7 separate regions of the Homo sapiens genome follow, and regions 1, 2, 4, 5, 6 and 7 are each linked to region 3. Evidence: promoter capture Hi-C in 16 types of primary human blood cells and fetal thymus (Javierre and others, 2016). All regions are on one chromosome and are shown on one strand. Each heading gives the region's core, a stretch centred on a gene start or on the middle of the fragment in contact. The rest is flanking DNA. Distances are from core to core; before and after follow the strand shown.

Evidence for each region. Contacts are between HindIII fragments. The CHiCAGO score rates a contact against its expected background, and 5 or more counts as called.
Region 1: a fragment that was not itself captured here is called in contact with the fragment with the promoter of PEX12 in region 3 in 1 of 17 cell types (naive CD4 T cells); the score reaches 5.3 in naive CD4 T cells.
Region 2: a fragment that was not itself captured here is called in contact with the fragment with the promoter of PEX12 in region 3 in 11 of 17 cell types (naive CD4 T cells, activated CD4 T cells, total CD4 T cells and 8 more); the score reaches 18.0 in naive CD4 T cells.
Region 4: a contact is called between a fragment that was not itself captured here and the fragment with the promoter of PEX12 in region 3, in 6 of 17 cell types (naive CD4 T cells, total CD8 T cells, activated CD4 T cells and 3 more). The highest score is 11.9, in naive CD4 T cells.
Region 5: a fragment that was not itself captured here is called in contact with the fragment with the promoter of PEX12 in region 3 in 7 of 17 cell types (naive CD4 T cells, total CD8 T cells, non-activated CD4 T cells and 4 more); the score reaches 11.6 in naive CD4 T cells.
Region 6: a contact is called between a fragment that was not itself captured here and the fragment with the promoter of PEX12 in region 3, in 5 of 17 cell types (naive CD4 T cells, activated CD4 T cells, total CD8 T cells and 2 more). The highest score is 11.5, in naive CD4 T cells.
Region 7: a contact is called between a fragment that was not itself captured here and the fragment with the promoter of PEX12 in region 3, in 1 of 17 cell types (total CD8 T cells). The highest score is 5.5, in total CD8 T cells.

What each region holds. Positions count from the first base shown.
Region 1 is chr17:35,104,952-35,107,651 of GRCh38, forward strand. RAD51D (RAD51 paralog D) reads right to left here. Exons shown (of 10, transcript NM_002878.4): 4 at 2,415-2,496; 5 at 2,037-2,171; 6 at 1,435-1,530. It overlaps RAD51L3-RFFL (RAD51L3-RFFL readthrough), which reads right to left. Exons shown (of 7, transcript NR_037714.1): 2 at 1,435-1,530. Among named protein-coding and RNA genes, the nearest start is that of RAD51D, 14 kb to the right of the region's middle. The HindIII fragment of the contact is 668 bases long and covers 1,117-1,784 here.
Region 2 is chr17:35,178,745-35,181,444 of GRCh38, forward strand. It overlaps UNC45B (unc-45 myosin chaperone B), which reads left to right. Exons shown (of 20, transcript NM_001267052.2): 18 at 1,815-1,932. Among named protein-coding and RNA genes, the nearest start is that of SLC35G3, 14 kb to the right of the region's middle. The HindIII fragment of the contact is 8,641 bases long and covers 1-2,700 here.
Region 3 is chr17:35,577,321-35,580,020 of GRCh38, forward strand. It overlaps PEX12 (peroxisomal biogenesis factor 12), which reads right to left and starts at 1,251. Exons shown (of 3, transcript NM_000286.3): 1 at 576-1,251; 2 at 1-271. The coding sequence starts at 701. RefSeq lists an enhancer at 515-1,330. The HindIII fragment of the contact is 3,440 bases long and covers 1-2,498 here.
Region 4 is chr17:35,126,523-35,129,222 of GRCh38, forward strand. It overlaps FNDC8 (fibronectin type III domain containing 8), which reads left to right. Exons shown (of 4, transcript NM_017559.4): 2 at 520-895. It overlaps NLE1 (notchless homolog 1), which reads right to left. Exons shown (of 13, transcript NM_018096.5): 13 at 2,208-2,700. Among named protein-coding and RNA genes, the nearest start is that of FNDC8, 6.3 kb to the left of the region's middle. The HindIII fragment of the contact is 470 bases long and covers 1,139-1,608 here.
Region 5 is chr17:35,271,592-35,274,291 of GRCh38, forward strand. It overlaps SLFN5 (schlafen family member 5), which reads left to right. Exons shown (of 5, transcript NM_144975.4): 5 at 1-2,064. Among named protein-coding and RNA genes, the nearest start is that of SLFN5, 30 kb to the left of the region's middle. The HindIII fragment of the contact is 1,255 bases long and covers 768-2,022 here.
Region 6 is chr17:35,229,056-35,231,755 of GRCh38, forward strand. No RefSeq gene overlaps it. Among named protein-coding and RNA genes, the nearest start is that of SLFN5, 13 kb to the right of the region's middle. The HindIII fragment of the contact is 3,355 bases long and covers 1-2,700 here.
Region 7 is chr17:35,194,939-35,197,638 of GRCh38, forward strand. No RefSeq gene overlaps it. Among named protein-coding and RNA genes, the nearest start is that of SLC35G3, 1.9 kb to the left of the region's middle. The HindIII fragment of the contact is 550 bases long and covers 1,176-1,725 here.

The sequences.
Region 1 (2,700 bases), core at 201-2,700, 470 kb before region 3:
AGCCACCGCTCCTAGTCTCAGATTCTTAACCCCTAGAAACTGTGAGATAAGAAATACTATGTCTTAAGCCACTAAGGTTTTGGTAACTTATTATGCAATAATAGAAGATATATCATCTAATGGTCCTACAGTAAAAAATACAGTCTTCTGATCTGGAATTGAGAGGTTTGGGCTATAAGGTTAGTTCTTGCCCTAAATATTTGGTCAACTTTGGTCAACTCACTTCACTTCTCCGGCCTTCACTCTTCTCATCTCTAAAAGTGAGGTAAGCACTACTCAGCTTCATGTCTCAACAAGCTGGTGGGTCATAACCAGCTATGACTTCTGAGGTAAGTATTTGTTCAACATTTTTTTTTAAAGACGGGGTCTAGCTCTGCTGACCAGGCTAAGGTACAGTGGTATGATCATAGCTCACTGCAACCTCCAACTGCTAGGCTCAAGCAATCCTCCCGTCTCAGCCTCTGGAGTCATTAGGATTACAGGTGTGGGCCACCACTCCCAGCTTGTTCAACTATTATATGTTCTAAAGTTTGTAAAAATCATTGACTTTATATATAGTCGTGGGGATGCCCGTGTGAACACGTCATGCTTTGGGGTGAGAGGAAAAGTTTGAGATAAACTATTCTATCTTTAAGGTATCCTCCACATCTAGTCATTTATAAATCAGTGCACCAAATCCTGTCTAAGCACCCAACATGAGTAGCAAAGTGCCAACCCAAATGCCATTCTAAATCCTTCCCATTAACATGACTCTGAATGTGTTCAGCGACTGGGCAGAAATCTGACTTCAGGGATGGTGGGCCCAGGTCTTAGTCCAAGATACACACATAACCCCATTTTGGCCAACTAGATGTAAGGGGAAGAGGGACGTCTATTAGTGGGCTCTGGAGAAAGATTCTTCATCCCTGATAAAAGGGAGGAGGTACAGAAAAGAACCATCTATCTTTTACTGCCTTGAATATGGATGTGGATGTGTGAAGACAAGATGCTTGGAGCTTTGGCAGCCTCTTTGCAACCATGAGGGGAAGAACAAGAAAATCAGACACACAAATCTATTGCCCTGATAGCATGGACCTGCCAACCTCCCAACTCATGTGACATAATTAAATGTCCTCAAGCTTCAAGTCTCTGTCAGACAACCTCTATTACTTGCAGCTAAAAGTATTCCTCACTCACCTAGTGGGGAATGCAGACATAAATATGACATGATCCTTCCACTCAGGGGGCTTTACTGTTCAGCAGGGAAGATGAACATGTAAACAATGAGGTATGTGATTTAGGTGCTCGGGAATTCCATCCTGGGAGTAGCAAGCATAGTTGGAGTCACCAGATTGCACATCTGCATTTCCAAACAGTCTGTAGTAGGACACCTGCCCACAGAGATAGCACCTAGAAAGCTGAATTAAGCAAGGAGGGGCAGAACAGCAGGCTCACCTGCTGGGCCACAGTGCCTCGGAGCTCCTGCAGCACATCCAGCATCTGGAAGATGTCAAATGCATGCACCACCTGGATCCTCCGGAGAGCTTCTGCCTGAAGCGGTGGAAAAGAAAAGCAAGGACTTTGGATAAGAGGGAGTAGGGGGGTCAAGGTAAGGCTGAGAAGGAAGAGGCACCTGGATGCAAGGACTCAGGTCCAGGGTGGCAAATGAGCTTTGTCTAATGGTCAGTTGTCACAGTGGTGGCTGCCTGGGTGCTGAGCTGTAAAGTACTCAGAACTCAGCAGGAAAGAGGGATATGACTGATTAGTGATGTCTCTCACAGGTGAGAAATGGACTGGAAACACAAAGCTTGGTGTTTGCCAGCCCTGGTTTAGGGCATGCAAAGAGTTGGGAGGGTTTCCTGGAAGAATCAGTGTGAGTAGCATCCCAAATGGGATGATGGCATCAACAGGGGTGGCTTAAGGAATACGAGATGTATTAATAGAACAGCAAGTTTGAAGGCAAGGAATGACTATTCAACCCAAATTCTTACAATGTTAAGGGATAATGGGGTTTTCCTGTGTCAGAATCTCAATGGAACCCAGCATCCTGCCCTTACCTGTTCCTCCTCATCCTGGGTTTTAGCCTGAAGCAGCTGGAGGAGGCGGGAAGCTGTCAGCCCTCCATTGGAATCTACATATAGGACGTTTTGCTGCAGGCCATGGGCCACATTTGCTGCCATACAGAGACATACCTGGGGGTGGGGGCATTGGATGAACTTGACACTTCAGAGAGGGTCCAGATGGGAGCTCCCCACCAAACCTTGCCCAGATTCCAGCAACACAAATGGGCTGAGTCCCGACCCCATTCCTTATTACCCATCTTCTCTCTGTTGGGCTCTGAACCCATTAGTACGCTGAAGCTCCCCCAGGGACCCTGGGCTATGCATCTACCACCCTCACCCCTAAATCCTCCTGACTGCTGGCCTCACATGTACCTGAGTTTTGCCGCTACCTGGGCCTCCTACAATTTCAGTCACTTCTCCAGTATAGAGACCAGCATCAAGCAGTTTATCAAGACTGATGGCAGAAGAGAAGAAAATCAACACAAGAGGTTAGGAGGAAGACAGGGGAAAAGGTACCAAGAAGAAAAGTAAGACATTTCTTTCAAGCACTGGTTCTGTCTTTGAACATCACTGGCCAGGAGGCTTCTCCTGGTGTTTTCTTCTGGTAAGGAGGGAATGCCCAAATGTGCCTTCTCTGGTCTCTCTTCATCCCTCCACT
Region 2 (2,700 bases), core at 21-2,520, 400 kb before region 3:
CTTTCTACATATGGCTAGCTAGTTTTCCCAGCACTATTTATTAAATAGGGAATCCTTTCATCATTTCTTGTTTTTGTCAGGTTTGTCAAAGATCAGATGGTTGTAGATGTGTGGTGTTATTTCTGAGGCCTCTGTTCTGTTCCATTGGTCTATATATCTGTTTTGGTACCAGTACCATGCTGTTTTGGTTACTGTAGCCTTGTAGTATAGTTTGAAGTCAGGTAGCGTGATACCTGACCCTGATGATGCCTCCAGCTTTGTTCTTTTTGCTTAGGGTTGTCTTGGCTATGCCTGCTCTTTCTTGGTTCCATATGAACTTTAAAGTAGTTTTTTCCAATTCTGTGAAGAAAGTCATTGGTAGCTTCATGGGAATGGCATTGAATCCATAAACTATCTTGGGCAGTATGGCCATTTTCATGATATTGATTCTTCCAATCCATGAGCATGGAATGTTCTTCCATTTGTTTGTGTCCTCTTTTATTTTGTTGAGCAGTGGTTTGTAGTTCTCCTTGAAGAGGTCCTTCACATCCCTTGTAAATTGGATTCCTAGGTATTTTATTCTGTTGGTAGCAGTTGTGAATGGGAGTTCACTCATGATTTGGCTCTCAAGGATCTAGAACTAGAAATAACATTTGACCCAGCAATCCCATTGCTGGGTATATACCCAAAGGACTATAAATCATGCTACTATAAAGACACATGCACACGTATGTTTATTGTGGCACTATTCACAATAGCAAAGACTTGGAACCAACCCAAATGTCCATCAATGATAGATTGGATTAAGAAAATGTGACACATATGCACCATGGAATACTATGCAGCCATAAAAAAGGATGAGTTCATGTCCTTTGCAGGGACATAGATGAAACTGGAAACCATCATTCTGAGCAAACTACCACAAGGACAGAAAACCAAACACCGCATGTTCTCACTCGTAGGTGGGAGTTGAACAATGAGAACACATGGACACAGGGCGGGGAACATCACACACCGGGGCCTGTTGGGGGTGGGGAGCTGGGGGAGGGATAACATTAGGAGAAATACCCTAATGTAAATGACGAGTTGATGGGCGCAGCAAGCCAACATGGCACGCACATGTATACCTATGTAACAAACCTGCACGTTGTGCACATGTACCCTAGAACTTAAAGTATTAAAAAAAAAAAGATATCCAGGTGGATAGTGGGATAAAATGTATTCCTCTTTGGAAGCAGGAGTATGTCAGCATGTACTGGGTTGGGATTCTTTTGGTTGCCAGTAGCAGAAAACTTAACTATAATAGGCCTAAGCATAAAGGAAATTTATTGGCTCATGTAGATAAAAAGTCTGGGGTAACAAGATTCAGGTGTGGCTTGATGCAGGGCTTACAAAGCTGCCTTAGGTTCCTGTTCTCTCTGTCTCTCCTCTCCTTTCTGTATTGCTTTAATTCTCAATGGGCTTTTCTGCTCTCTCATGGTTATAAGGGCAGTTCTGGCCTTCACATCTTCTTGGATCTACATCCAGGATGAGAGAGAGAGAGAGAGAGAGAGAGAGAGAGAGAGAATTTCTTTACTGCAATAATACAGAGGCTCTCCAGTTGGGTGATATCCAGAACCCACTGCTGTGGCCAGGATGCCATGCTATACAATTTAGTTGAGGCCCATGGTGCCCCTCCTAGAGCTGGGGGCAGTGTGATGCCACATAAACCATGCTGGCTGAGGATGTGGGAAGGACAGCACCAGAATGGAAGAATGGTCCCTGGGTGGCCAGAAAACCCCTATGGTCACGGCAGAAGACTCAAGGGTCTTTCTTCCTCCACCCTCCTACCCTAGGCAGAAGATCTTTAAGGAGAGGGCCTTGCCAGACATCGAGAACTACATGTTTGAGAATCATGATCAGCTGCGGCAGGCGGCCACCGAGTGCATGTGCAACATGGTGCTCCACAAGGAGGTGAGGCAGGGGCTCAGGATGGAGACCCGGGCGTGATCAAGGCACGAGAGGCAGGCCAGGGTCAGGGCCTGGGGTGAGATCGGGAGCTCTTATGATGGCATTAAGGTAGCATTTTGGGCAGAAAATCCAGGAATCCCTAAATATTTCCTAGATTATAGCCCCCCTCCCTGTAGGGGCCCTGAGAGAAAGATATGCATAAAGGAAAAAATACAAAGCTGGGGCTTTCAATCCAGACCCTGGGCTAGATGAGGTGGAAGGCACCATTTCCCTAAGTTACTTAGGCCCAAATAACCTTAAAACAAAGCAGGATATGAGACCAGGGCCTCTCAGAGGTCAAGGAAGGCTAGACCACTTGCATTTATTGAAGCTCCACATATATAAAAAAAATGAAGAAATGCCAAATACAGTTATCAGCCATTTTAGGATGTCTCAAATGTCAGCATTTAATGAACTACCACTGTTCCCATAGAAATTGCAATGCAATATAACTGTACTCAGCACAGAATAATTACAGGGTTTATAAAAATAAAATGAATTCAGAACATGCCGTAGGCTTCATGGTCCAGTCATGGGACAAATGATACCCATCTGGTGAATGTCTTCTTCTCCCCATCCTGTCAGAGTACTGCTGTGACTGTATGTGTAATCTTATCAGAGATAACAGCAGGGTCTAAGTTTGAGGCCCTTCATTAACATGAGGGCCAAGCCGAATGTCCCTCCTGGGCCCTCACATAGGGGCTAGCGTGAGACCCAGTCTGTTTACCCTCA
Region 3 (2,700 bases), core at 1-2,500:
GCTTCTCCAGCTTCACTTTCAGATAGGGAAGAAGAACCAGGAACATAATAGATTTCCAAAGCTGCTGCTTTGGGAGACCAGCACTAGCCAATCTCTGAGACTTGTGAGTGTCCCCCATTACAATTCTCTTTAAGCCGTAAAAGTTTTCAGAAAATGAGGCACTGGTTCTAGACAGATAATGTTGCTGGAGCAGAAGATCTAGCAGAGTAAAGATTTCATCAAACCACCTCCACAAGAAGCCATAGTGGGTGGGATTTGATTCTGCAAGAACCTAAAGCAAAATAAAGCAATAAGTGAAATTCATTCCATTACACAAGTTCTACACCTATTTACATTCCCCCTTTTCCTCTAAAGTCTACACAATTTGTTTTAAATAAGTCACTGTTGGACCCTGAAATGCTGGGTATTCAGTACAGGTCTCTACACATAACAGAGACTCAGTAACTCTTAAGTCATGGGATACAAGTTATTTGCAAATTGGCTATTTCAAACGCTAGGCTACCAAATAAGCACAAATTATTCGTTTGTTTTTTACCCAGTTGTCCCTAAAACCTTTCCAAGAATTAATACCTTACCTTGACCACATGCTGAAGAGCGGGTCTCACTGCTGTCATTAAACTGTCCTGTGCTACCACCTCAAAGATGGATGGCTGGTCATCGGCCACAGAAGCAGCTGTGAAGTGAGCCCCGTGCTCAGCCATAGTTTCCTGCGTGTACTGGCTTTCACTTTTCCCACAAACTCTCTCGTGAGCATGAACTTTTTCGGGAGGAAGAGTATCAGATGGGTGCTCAGTCTTAAAGGTAAACTTTCTGCATGATATCTGAAACTCGAAACTCAATCTTATGGGCAAAAATGAACTGGGAAAAAAAGACCTGGAGGCCGAGGGTAGTCTCAAGAAGGTTAAGAACAAAGTTAACTCGGACGTGGGTGGAAGTAGTATGTGGCGAGGGGGTAACTTGTCAAATGCTGCACGTCAGGGCAGAGCGTGACTGTGGGGGACAGGTATGGGGGAAGGAACGCAATCCTCTGGAGCTGCGAACCAGAAACGCCCCCTCCTCCCCAATCGTGAGAGCTCAAAAGCCAGCCGACTCTGAGGATTCAGTCGTGCCACTGTGAGCCCGGGACACAAGGGCTGACTCCAGCTGTTGGCTTTGAGTATCCCCGCCCGCGCCCGTCCTTGCTCGCTGACCCCAGGCGAGGCGCAAACAACCCACGACGCCACGTTTGAAGGGAGGTCTCCGCTTTATGACAGAAGCCGCACCCGGAAATGAAACCACCAGGACCTCTGGGATGCCTGGCGGAAGAGAGGCGCTCTAGTTCCGAATGCGGTCCGGAAACCAGAACTAGAGAACTCTATGACCCACCTGAGCTTCCGCTCCCGCCCCGCTGAAACAGAAGAGGGCCCTTGTGGGCTGGTTTTGGCTAGTTTGGTTTACTTTTCGTAGCTGGGTCTGCATGGTAGCCTCGCTGGAAAGCTACAGCTCTGAACCTCTCTCTGCGAGGTCTTTTTGACAAGCTGTTTGGGGCACCGCGCAGACGTCTGGCGCCGGGAGCCAGAGCTCGGGCCCGTTGCTGAGCCCTGTGTTCCTGCAGGCGATGAAGCTAGGGGCGGTGGGAGGAAGGGAATCTGGAGGTGGAAAGGACTTTGCTGTACGCGTGCGGCAGGGATGGTGGTTAATTTATATGTCTTAGCCTTCCAGAAATGATTTAAAGCGACATAGCAGGAGATAGGAGCCTTAGATTTATTGCCGCCAATTATAAGGAAAGATGATTGGATTGAGAAAGGTTCATGCTTGTTCCTCAGTACTTGAGACGGTTAATTTTCATCCAAGCTGGTAGTTTAACGTCTTCCAGGTTTTGGCTATATTCAAGCATAACTGCATGCACTTGCTATACTGGATGAAAATGGTCTCCATCCTTGAACACAGTTGTATATGTCACCACCAGCGATATGAATACAGTACTAACGCAGAGGGAGCTTTATGAATTGTAACTAGCATGCACTGGGGACACTTGACAGAAAGTTTCCTTTCATGCCGTTTTTATACCAAAATGAATGTGATTTACCTTAAGGTTTGTAAAGTGCTTTTATGTTATGTACAGCTTTGTCTCGCTGAAGTTGGCTGACACAGCCTTATTGAATTTGGATGAGAGTTCCACCTCTCCTCCCTTCCTCTGGGAAGTGCCACCTCTGGGCTAAATAGCTGGGAATAGAAGGTATTGTTTACTGCCCTAGAGGCCCTTATGTTATAAAAATAATTGGTTTGCATAATGAGAACCCTCAAAAACAAGGTTTGGATTTAGTTATTCCAATAGGAGAGAAAACCTTACAAATTGTCCTTAATTATAGTTATAAAAAGTGTTTTTTACTCTACCAAAAGACATTATATTGATATATGATTTTTACCTTACAGAGTTTTAAGACTAGACATAGTTTATCCATATGAAGCACCTGGATACATATTAGGTGCTTGTTTAATAGTAACTGTTATGTACAAGCTTTTCTTAAGTGAATAGCAAAAATACAAAGTTGAGAGGTAGCATCAACTAAATCAAGCAGGAAATTAAACATTTTTGTCACTTAGGGATCTTTGGTTACAAGCAACAGAAACAAACAGGCTAATTTAAACTAAAACGGAATTTATTAGAAGTGTATGGAGTAGCTCACAAAATAAGTAAAGCCAGCCCTGAAAGAACAG
Region 4 (2,700 bases), core at 124-2,623, 450 kb before region 3:
GATAGAGTTTCACTCTGTCACCCAGGCTGGAGTGCAGTGGTGTGATCTCGGCTCACTGCAACTTCTGCCCCCTGGGTTCAAGCAATTCTCCTGCCTCAGCCTACCAAGTAGCTAGGATTACAGGTGCCAACCACCGCACTCAGCCAATTTTTGTGTTTTTAGTGGAGACAGGGTTTCACCATGTTGGCCAGGCTGGTCTGTAACTCCTGACCTTGAATCTGCCTGCCTCGGCCTCCCAAAGTGCTGGGATTATAGGCGTGAGCCACTGCGCCCAGCCAGGATCTTATTAAAGATGCGGATTCTCTAGTCCCATGCTAACTGGGGACCAGGGACTAAAAGTCTGCATTTTTAGTAAGTGCCCTGGTGAGTCTAATGCAATGCTATAGAGCAATGAGGCTGTTCCAAGCTGTTTGCAAATGGCTGGGGATGCTGGTAAGTCAGGCCCAAGGCCTGCCCTCAGGTGGAACGGGCTGGGGTGGCCTCCTTCATCTGATTCACCTGTCTCCCCTTTTGCTCCAGGAAGCCGCTGCCAGTAGAGGATTCAGACTGCAGCTCTGATGAGACCAGCATCTCTGCCTTCTCATCCACCTTGCTGAACCCCATCAAATTAGCTGTGACCCAGCCCAACAGCAGCTTCTTTGCAGGGATGCTGGAGGGGGAGCTGAACAAACTCAGCTTCTCCCCAATGGCCAAGAATGCAGAAAATGAGGACCTGGCGCTCGGCCCCTGCCCATGCCCATCGAAGTCCCAGATGGCCACAAGGGGCCTGCTGGACCTTGACAACCCTGAGCTGGAGACAGAAACCTCCTCAACGCACTCAGAATCTTCTGTGGTTGTGGACCTGCCGGACACCCCCTTCATCTTTGAGCACACCGTCAACAATTCCACAGCTGTGGTGCGTTTCCCTTGCTCATGCGTTCAGCAGAGGCTTATTGTGCCAGGCACTGAGCTGAGCTCCATGGGTAGTGAGAAGGTGCCTGCCACCTGCATGTCGACCTCAAGTTCACGGTTTAGGAAGGGAGAGGATGTGTCTGTAAAAACTCCAGTGCAAGACAGAAAGGGTTCAGTGCTGTAGGAAAAGTTCAGAGCAAGTGCCACCAGGAATTCAGAGGGAAAGATATTTCCAGATGCGGGAATAAGCTTGGTGGCTTTTGGTAACATCTGAGCTGGGATGTAGAGGTAGCATGTAAACATCTAGAGGTGGAGGAGGGAGGCATTCCCTGGAGGGGCGGACCCTAGCAAAAGCTCACAGGAAAGTGAGGGAGGAAATCTCAATTTGAACAAGATGGTAGGTGATCTGTAGGAACATGAAAGCGTGAGAAGCCCTGGATGAGGACCTGGGATCGAGTGAGGCTACTCAGAATTGCTGGGCCTCCTCCCTAGAGGGTCTAGGGTGAAGCCTGATAATTTGCATTAGTAACAGATTCCCAGAGGATGCTGTGGCTCCCCGTCCGCGGGCTACACGTCGAACAACACCGTCCTACACTATGGGAAGTGAAGACAGGGGACAGGATGGGGAATGTTAGTCTGGGATCATCTTCCAGAGTCCTCCAGTGTTAGACTACTTTATAGACTTTTCTGTAAGTAATAGGGAACAGCTTTGTAAAAAGCTTCACATCAGATGATGAAAGCAATTCGAGCTGTATCTTGGGAGGATGCCTGGAATTCCACTGTTGGATGGCCCAGAGCAGTGTTTCTCAAAGTGCTCTCCAGATGGACAATGTCAGCATCACTCAGCAAATTGTTACAAATTTAAATTCTCATCTCCCTCCACCACATTTGGGCCTCCTGAGTCAGAAACTGTTGGGGCGGAGCCCAGTAATCTATCTTTTAATAAGTCCTCCAGGGTATTCTAATGCACACCAAGTTTGACAAACACTGGCCTAGATGGAGGAGAAACCAGACAGGAGGCAGCAGGCCCAGAAATCTGCAGTTACAAAATCTCCCTGAGATGCTTAGCCAGGCTTGGCAACCATTGTAGTACAAAGTGTATGGGCTCTGGAGCTATGGGTTTGAACACTGGCTGTCACTTAATTGCCGTATGATGATGGACCAGTCACTTGCCCTCTCTGGACCTAGTCGATAAGATGATCTCTAAGGTCCCTCTCAGCTAACAGAGTCTAGACAGAGTCTAGAACCAACCTTTTTGGCACCAGGGACTGGTTTCATGGAAGATAATTTTTCCATGGATCCGGTTGGGGGGATGGTTTCAGGATGAGTCAAGCATATTACATTTATTGTGTACTTTATTTCTATTATTATTACATTGTAATATATAATGAAATAATTATACAACTCACCATAATGTAGAAACTGTGGGAGCCCTGAGCTTGTTTTCCTGCAACGAGAGGGTCCCATTTGGGGGTGATGGGAGACAATGACAGATCATCAGGCATTAGATTCTCATAAGGAGCATTCAACTTAGATCCCTCCCATACAATTCACAATAGGGTTCACGTGCCTATGGGAATCTAATGCCTCTGCTGATCTGACAGGAGGCAGAGCTCAGGTGGTACCCTGAGCCGTGGGGAGCAGCTGTAAATACAGATGAAGCTTCGCTTGCTCGCCCACCAATCTCCTCCTGCTGTGCTATCCAGTTCCTAACAGGCCATGGACTGCTATCAGTTGGTGGCCCAAGGGTTGAGGACCCCTGGCGTATAAGAAATATGGAATGAGGGTGTACCCTAAAGTGGGTGGGGC
Region 5 (2,700 bases), core at 145-2,644, 310 kb before region 3:
TAAACAGATAAAAAGCAGACCACGTTTTTGGATAAGAAGATTAAAAATTATAAATATATCAATTTTCACTGTTAATCTATAAATTCAGTGTAATCCCAATAAAAATGCCAACAGGTTTTCCCCAATAGCATTGAAATGATTTTAAAATTTAATGAAGGCCAAGCATGGTGGCTCACTCCTGTAATCCCAGCACTTTGAGAGGCCGAGGCAGGTGGATTGCCTGAGTCCAGGAGTTCCAGACCAGCCTGGACAACATGGTGAAATCCCGTCTCTATTTAAAATGCAAGAAATTAGCTGGGTGTGGTGGTGTGCACCTATAGTCCTAGCTACTCGGGAGGCTGAGGTGGGAGAATCACCCAAGCCTTGGGAGGTCGAGGCTGTAGTGAGCCAAAATCACATCACTGCACTCCAGTCTGGGCAGCCAGAGTGAGACCCTGTCTCAAAAAAAAAAAAATTATTGGAAACTACGAGGCAAGAATATCCAAGAAAAATCTAGAAAAGAAGAAACCTGAGTGAGTCAGCATGACCAAATATTAAAACATCTTATAAAGCTACAATAATTAAAACAATGTGGTGCTGATATGTGGAGGGTCAATGGAACAAGATGAAATGGCCAAAAATAAATTTAAAATACATGTTGAAATGTATTAACAGCATATGTTAAAGTTAAGTTATGTTAACTTTATATGTTAAATTCAAGTTAATTGGGGAAAGATGGATTATTCAATATATGATGAACAACTCTGTCACCCAGCTAAAAAAAATTAAGCTTGGGCCATATGCCAGACTAGATACCAAAATAAATTCCAGGAGGACCAAGTTTTTAAAAGTAAAAATATGGAATCATGGAAGTGCATGAAGAAGAAGTAGCACTTAAAAAAATAATAATCTCAGCATGGGGAAGGTCTAAGTATGGCCCTCAATCAGAAACCAGGAAGGAAAATATTGACTATTTTAAACAAAATTATCTCTGTACCAAAAACAGCATAAAAGGTCAAGAAACAACACACTGGAAAAAGAATTGCAATGAATATCACAGCCAAATAGTTAATTTCTTATTTTCAAAAAATAGCTTCTACAAATCGAAGAGAAAAATTCTAAGGTCTCAAAGGAAAAATGAGCAAAGGATTTGACAGGTGGTAGAATACAGAAAAAGAATTTAAAATAGCTCCTAAAGATATGGAAACATTACTCATGATAGCAGAAGTATCAATTGACAAAATTACTCAGATTGGTAACAAACTTTAAGGGGGAAAGCACTTCCATGCATTGCTGTAAATTGGTACATCTTCTACTGAGAACAATCCGGCAGTAGTTAACAAAATTGTGAATGCATATATCTCTTTCTCTAGAAATTTCTCTTTTGGGAATTTATTCTACATATATATTCAAACGTGTGAAATACTTCTATACAGGTGATTGAATTTCACTTTATTCCTAAGAGCAGAAGACTGCAAAATAGTAAATATATACCCAAAAGGGTCTAATGGATTAGTTTTTGGCATATCAGCACATGATAATACTATGAAGCCATAAAAAAGAGAGATCTCTATATGTATTGATGGGGGACCATCTTTAAGATATACTGTGGTGTTGAACAAAACAACATGCTGAAAATGTCTCTTATTCTTTTAGAATCAATATAAGTCTGTGCTTGTAAATGCAGTAAGTATCTTTGGAAGTATACCTAAAAATTGGTAATAGTGTTTGACTCCAGGGAAGAACAGATGGGTGCCAGAGTGAAAAAAAGATAGCTTTTGCTTTTTATGACTTTTGGATTCTGTACCACGTAATAATTTTGATGTAAATTTTGCTGTGTGTGTTTTTACTTGTTCATGTAGTGATTTTATAAATTACTCTTTTAATTTTCTATCAATGAATATCCTGGGATAAACCCCTCATGATCATAATGAATAATGATGTGTGGAGAGTGGGGAGGGTTTACATATGAAAAATGTAGAAAATACAAAAAGTGTCTATATATACAAAAATGTAAGTGTTAACATTTTTATATTTGCTTCAAGCTTTTTTTTTAAATAAAAGAAATGCAATATTGCAATTAAATTTGTGTTCTTCTTTCTTCTGTTTCACATCCAATTTATCTCCCCTTCCTCCAGAGGCAGTAACTATCATGGCTTTTGTGGGTATCCTTCAGGCTGTTAGTTTTACACACACACACACACACACACACATCAGATCACACTATCACTAGTGGTGGCATAAGATGAAGTGAAGGTAGAGGACAAGGTACTGGGAATTCCAGTTTATGAATTTAGTTTCGAAAGGGATTTAGTTTCCATGGCAACAATAGTCATTATAAAGATTGTAAATTGGCATTTTCGATAGCTCTAGGAAGTTTAGACAACGAAAAAATTGAGATTGAAAGAAAAACTATCCAGCTGAGAATATCCATAGAAAACTGGAATGCCTTGATGACAGTTTTGGACAAGTCCCTCATCCTCTATAGATGCAGGGCAGATATGACTGAGCACCAAGCCAAGGACCTAATTGTAACGGATGGTGAGTTCAATGCCAATGAAATCTGCAACCACATCACATCTCTTTCAGTAAGGGAAAAGCACTGGTATGGAAGCAGTGGGACCTTGAGACACGGCATAAGGATATTTGGGCAGATACTGAGAACTCTGGAGCCCCAAATACCTTTCAGACAGGCAGCTACATTGTGCCTAAGAGGATTAT
Region 6 (2,700 bases), core at 11-2,510, 350 kb before region 3:
TTCTTCTTATTATTTTTTGAGATGGGGTCTTACTCTGTCACCCAGGCTGGAGTGCAGTGGCATGATCACAGCTCACTGCAGTCTCGACCTCCCAGGCTCAAGCGATCCTCCCACTTCAGCCTCCTGAGTAGCTGAGACTACAAGTGCCCCACCAAGGCCAGCTAATTTTTGTATTTTTAATAGATATGAGGTTTTGCCATGTCTGGTGCCATGGCTGGTCTCAAAATCCTTAGCTCAAATGATCTGCCCGCTTCAGTCTCCCAAAGTGCTGCTGGGATTACCAGCATGAGCCGCCATGCCCAGCCAAAAATATAGGCAAAACTTTAAATGTATGAACCCTTTAAGAAAAGTCGTTCAGGTTGGAAGAAAATGAAAATAAAATTATAGGCTTAACATTAACCAGATTTTCAAAAGAGTTGAGATTTACATTATTCTGCAGAGGACTGAATCTTAGAGTGGTTTTCTTTTAGAGAAAGTTGCCTTCTGGTGTATGTGTGGGGGTGGTGGTGATATAAGTAGCCTTTATTAAAGGGAGAATGGTACACTCTATGTTATAGGATGAATTGTGTTTCCCCAAAATTTGTATGTTGAATCCCTAACCCTCACTACCTCAAAATGTGAATACATTTAGAGATGGAACCTTTAAAGAGGTAATTAAAGCTAACTAAGGTCATAAGAGTGGGGCCCTAATTCAATACAATCAGTATTCTCCTAAGAAGAGGAAGAGACACCAGGGAAGCACATGTATATGAAGTGGAGATCATGTGAGGGCACAGTGAGAAAGCAGCAACTGCAAGCCAAAAAGAGAGGCCTCAGAAGAAACAACATCTGCTGACACCTTGATCTTGGACTTCCAGCCTCTAGAACTGTGAGAAAATGAATTCGTGTTGTTTAAGCCACCAGGTCTTATATTTTGTTATGGCAGCCCTAGCAAACTAATTCTGCAAGAATTTTAAAATGTATAACTATATGAACAAAACTAAGCAATCAATAAAAGTGTAAACAGCCTTCCATCTTCCTACTATAAATCACTTTGGAAGATAAAAGGGAAACTTTTAATTTGGGTGGAATGACCTTGGTGTCCTTGATGAGTTTCAAGATAAAGAAGAAGGCTATTGTATTAATCTGTTTTCACATTGCTATAAAGAACTACCTAAGACTAGGTAATTTATAAAGAAAAGAGGTTGAATTGGCTCATGGTACCACAGGCTGCACAGGAAGCATGGCTGGGGAGACCTCAGGAAACTTACAATCATGGCAGAAGGTGTAAGGGAAGCCAGCACATCCTACATGGCTGGAGCAGGATGAATAGAGGGAAGGGGGAGGTGCTACACATTTTTAAACAACTAGATCTCAGGACAACTCACCCATTATAATGAGAACAGCATGGGGGAAATCCACCCCCTTGATCTAATCACCTCCCACGATGTCCGTTCTCCGACACTAGGGATTACAATTTGACATGAGGTTTGTGTGGGGACACAGTCCCAAACCATATTAGTTATGCAAGCCCTTTTGCACTAAGACTTTCAATCAAGATTCTGAGCGTTGTTTAAGATTTTAAAAAAACATTTTAAGTTCATGGGTATAAGTGCAGGTTTGTTACATAGGTAAACTTGTGTCATGGGGGTTTGTTGTACAGATTATTTCATCACCCAGGTATTAAGCCTAGTACCCATTAGTTATTTTTCTTGATCCTCTCCTTCCTCCTACCCTCCCACCCTCCAAAAGGCCCCAGTGTGTGTTCCACTCTATGTTCCACTCCCCAGTTGTTCCACTCCCCAGTTGTTCCACTCTATGTGTCCATGTGTTCTCATCATTTAGCTCCCACTTGTAAGTGAGAACATGTGGTATTTGGTTTTCTATTCCTGTGTTAGTTTCCTAAGGATAATGGCCTCCAGCTCCATCCATGTCCCTGCAAAGGACATGATCTCATTCATTGTTATGGCTGCATAGTATTCCATGATATGTACCACATTTTCTTTATCCAGTCTGTTACTGATGAGCATTTAGGTTGATTCCATGTCTACGCTATTGTGAGTGGTGCTGCAATGAACATACGTGTGTGTGTCTGTATAATAGAATGATCTACATTCCTTTGGGTATATATCCAGTAATAGGATTGCTGGGTTGAATGGTATTTCTGTTTTTATGTCTTTGAGGAATCACCACACTGTCTTCCACAATGGCTGAATTTACACTACCACCAACTGTATAAGTGTTCCTTTTTCTCCACAACCTCACCAGCATCTGTTATTTTTTGACTTTTTAATAATGGCCATTCTGACTGGTGTTAGATGATAGCTCATTGTGGTTTTGATTTGCATTTCTCTAATGATCAGTGATGTAGAGCTTTTTTCATATGATTGTTGGCTGAATGTATGTCTTCAGAATGTTTTAAACATTTTTTATTTTTGATAATTTCAAACTTATGGAAAAGTCGTAAGAATACTACAAAAAACTCCTATTCATTCTCCCCACAAAACATTATATATATTTGTTTTACCATTCTCACTTTCTTTCTCACTCTGCCTGCCTGTCTGTCTATCTATCTATCTATCTATCTAGAATTTTTGGGGAACCGTTTGAAAGTAAGTTGCCCCATTATCCTAAACATTTCACCATGTAATTCCCAAACACCAAGGACACACTCCTATATAATCACAGTGCTGTCATCACTACCAGGAAATTAACATGGAT
Region 7 (2,700 bases), core at 201-2,700, 380 kb before region 3:
TATTCCACAAAACCACCACCGTCATCATGGCCCGTTCTCAATGAGCTGTTGGGTACACCTCCCAGACGGGGTGGTGGCCGGGCAGAGGGGCTCCTCACTTCCCAGAAGGGGCGGCCGGGCAGCGGTGCCCCCCACCTCCCGGACGGGGCAGCGGCCGGGCGGGGGCTGACCCCCCACCTCCCTCCCAGACGGGGCAGCTTGCCCGGCGGGGGCTGCCCCCCACCTCCCTCCTGGACGGGGCGGCTGCCGGGCAGAGAAGCTCCTCACTTCCCAGACGGGGCGGCTGCCGGGTGGAGGGGCTCCTCACTTCTCAGACGGGGCGGCTGCCGGGCGGAGGGGCTCCTCACTTCTCAGATGGGGCAGCTGCGGGGCGGAGGGGCTCCTCACTTCTCAGATGGGGCGGCCGGGCAGAGACGCTCCTCACCTCCCAGATGGGGTCGCGGCCAGGCAGAGGCGCTCCCCACATCTCAGACGATGGGCCCCCGGGCAGAGACGCTCCTCACTTCCTAGACGGGATGGCGGCCGGGAAGAGGCGCTCCTCACTTCCTAGATGGGATGGCGGCCGGGAAGAGGCGCTCCTCACTTCCCAGACTGGGCAGCCGGGCAGAGGGGCTCCTCACATCCCAGACAATGGGCGGCCAGGCGGAGACGCTCCTCACTTCCCAGGCGGGGTGGCGGCTGGGCAGAGGCTGCAATCTCGGCACTTTGGGAGGCCAAGGCAGGCGGCTGGGAGGTGGAGGTTGTAGCTAGCCGAGATCACGCCACTGCTCTCCAGCCTGGGCAACATTGAGCACTGAGTGAATGAGACTCCGTCTGCAATCCCGGCACCTCGGGAGGCCGAGGTTGGCAGATCACTCGTGGTTAGGAGCTGGAGACCAGCCTGGCCAACACAGCGAAACCCCGTCTCCACCAAAAAAATACGAAAACCAGTCAGGCGTGGCGGTGCGCACCTGCAATCGCAGGCTGAGGCAGGAGAATCAGGCAGGGAGGTTGCAGTGAGCCGAGATGGCAGCAGTACAGTCCAGCTTCGGCTCCGCATCAGAGGGAGACCGTGGAAAGACAGGGAAACGGAGACCGTGGGGAGAGGGAGAGGGAGAGGGAGAGCTCAGGTATCTTATACATTGTTTTCTTTCCTTCTCTTCTTTTGATCTTACCCACTTTTTTTTACAACTTAAAGCTTTTTTTTTTTTTTTTTTTTTTGAGACAGGGTCTCGCTCTCTCACCCAGGCTCAAGTGCAGTGACACAAACATGGCTCAAGCCCAGCTAATTTTTTTTTTTTTTTTGTAGAGACAGTGTTTTATTATGTTGCCCAGGCTAGTCTTGAACTCCTGGGCTCAGGCAATCTGCCCACCTTGGCCTTCGAAAGTGCTGGGATTACAGGTGTGAGTGACCAGACTGGTCCCAAAACTTTTTTAATGTTTAAATTTTACCACTATACTAAGGAGGAGTTACCCATCTTTTAATTGCCTTTTTTTCTTCTTATTAGGGAGGGGTAAGGAAGAAGACTTGGTCAGCAGAAAGCAGGTCTTAATTGCTTTTTTGTTTTGTTTTGTTGCTATTGAGTTGTTTGAGCTCTTTATATGTGTTGGATATTAACCCCTTATCAGATGTCTGGCTTGCAAATATTTTCTCCCATTCCATAGGTTATCTCTTTACTCTGTTGATTGTTTGCTGTGCAGAAGGTTTTTAGTTTGTTTGTTTTAGCTACACATCATGAACCAAGAAGCTTTTTACTTTGATATGATACCATTTGTCTATATTTAATTTTGTTGTCTGTGCTTTTGGGAACAAATCCAAAAAATCATTACCCAGACCAATGTCTTGTATGTTTCCCCTATGTTTTCTTTCTTTTTTTTTTTTTTTTTTAAAGGAGGCTGTCAGCTGATCCCCTATGTTTTCTTCTAGCAGTTTTAGGTTCTTGGTCTTAAAGGTCTCTTTTTTTTCTTTCTTTCCTTTTTTTTTTTTTTTTTTTTTTTTTGTTGGCAATTTTCCTGAGCAAACTAATGCAGGAATGTTTAAGTATGTAATCCATTTTGAACTAACTTTTGTATATGGTGTTGAAATAAGGGTCCAATTTTCTTTTTCTGCATGTGGAAATTCAGTTTTCCCTACACCATTTATTGAAAAAAGCGGTCTTTTTCTTCTTGGCATATTTGTTGAAAATCAGATTCATCTCTGGGCTTTCTATTCTGTTCCATTGGTTGATGTGTCTTTTTCTTTTTTGCCAATTCCATGCTGTTTTACACTTACTTGATCTTAGCCAAAAGGCAGAGAAGCGATTATTTCATACTATTTTAATTAGTATAGCTTTGTAGTATAGTTTAAAATCAGATAGTGTGATACCTCCAGTTTTTTCAACTTCAGAGAGCTCTGAAGCAAATATCTCCAGCTTTTTTTCTTTTTGCTCACGATTGCCTTGGCTTTTTTTTTTTTTTTTTTTTTGCAGTTTTGTATGAATTTTAATGTTTTTTGTTTTTTTTTGAGGCATGGTTTCATTCTCTTTCCCAGGCTGGAATGAATGTCACAATCATGGCTCACTGCAGCCTCAAACTCCTGAGCCCAAACAAGCAATCCTCCTACCTCAGCTCCTGGAGTAGCTGGTACCTCAGGCATGCATTGACAAACCTGGTAAAAAAATTTTTTTTTTTTTGGTAGAGGTGAACTCCTCGGCTCAAGCAGTTCTTCCACCTTGGCCTCCC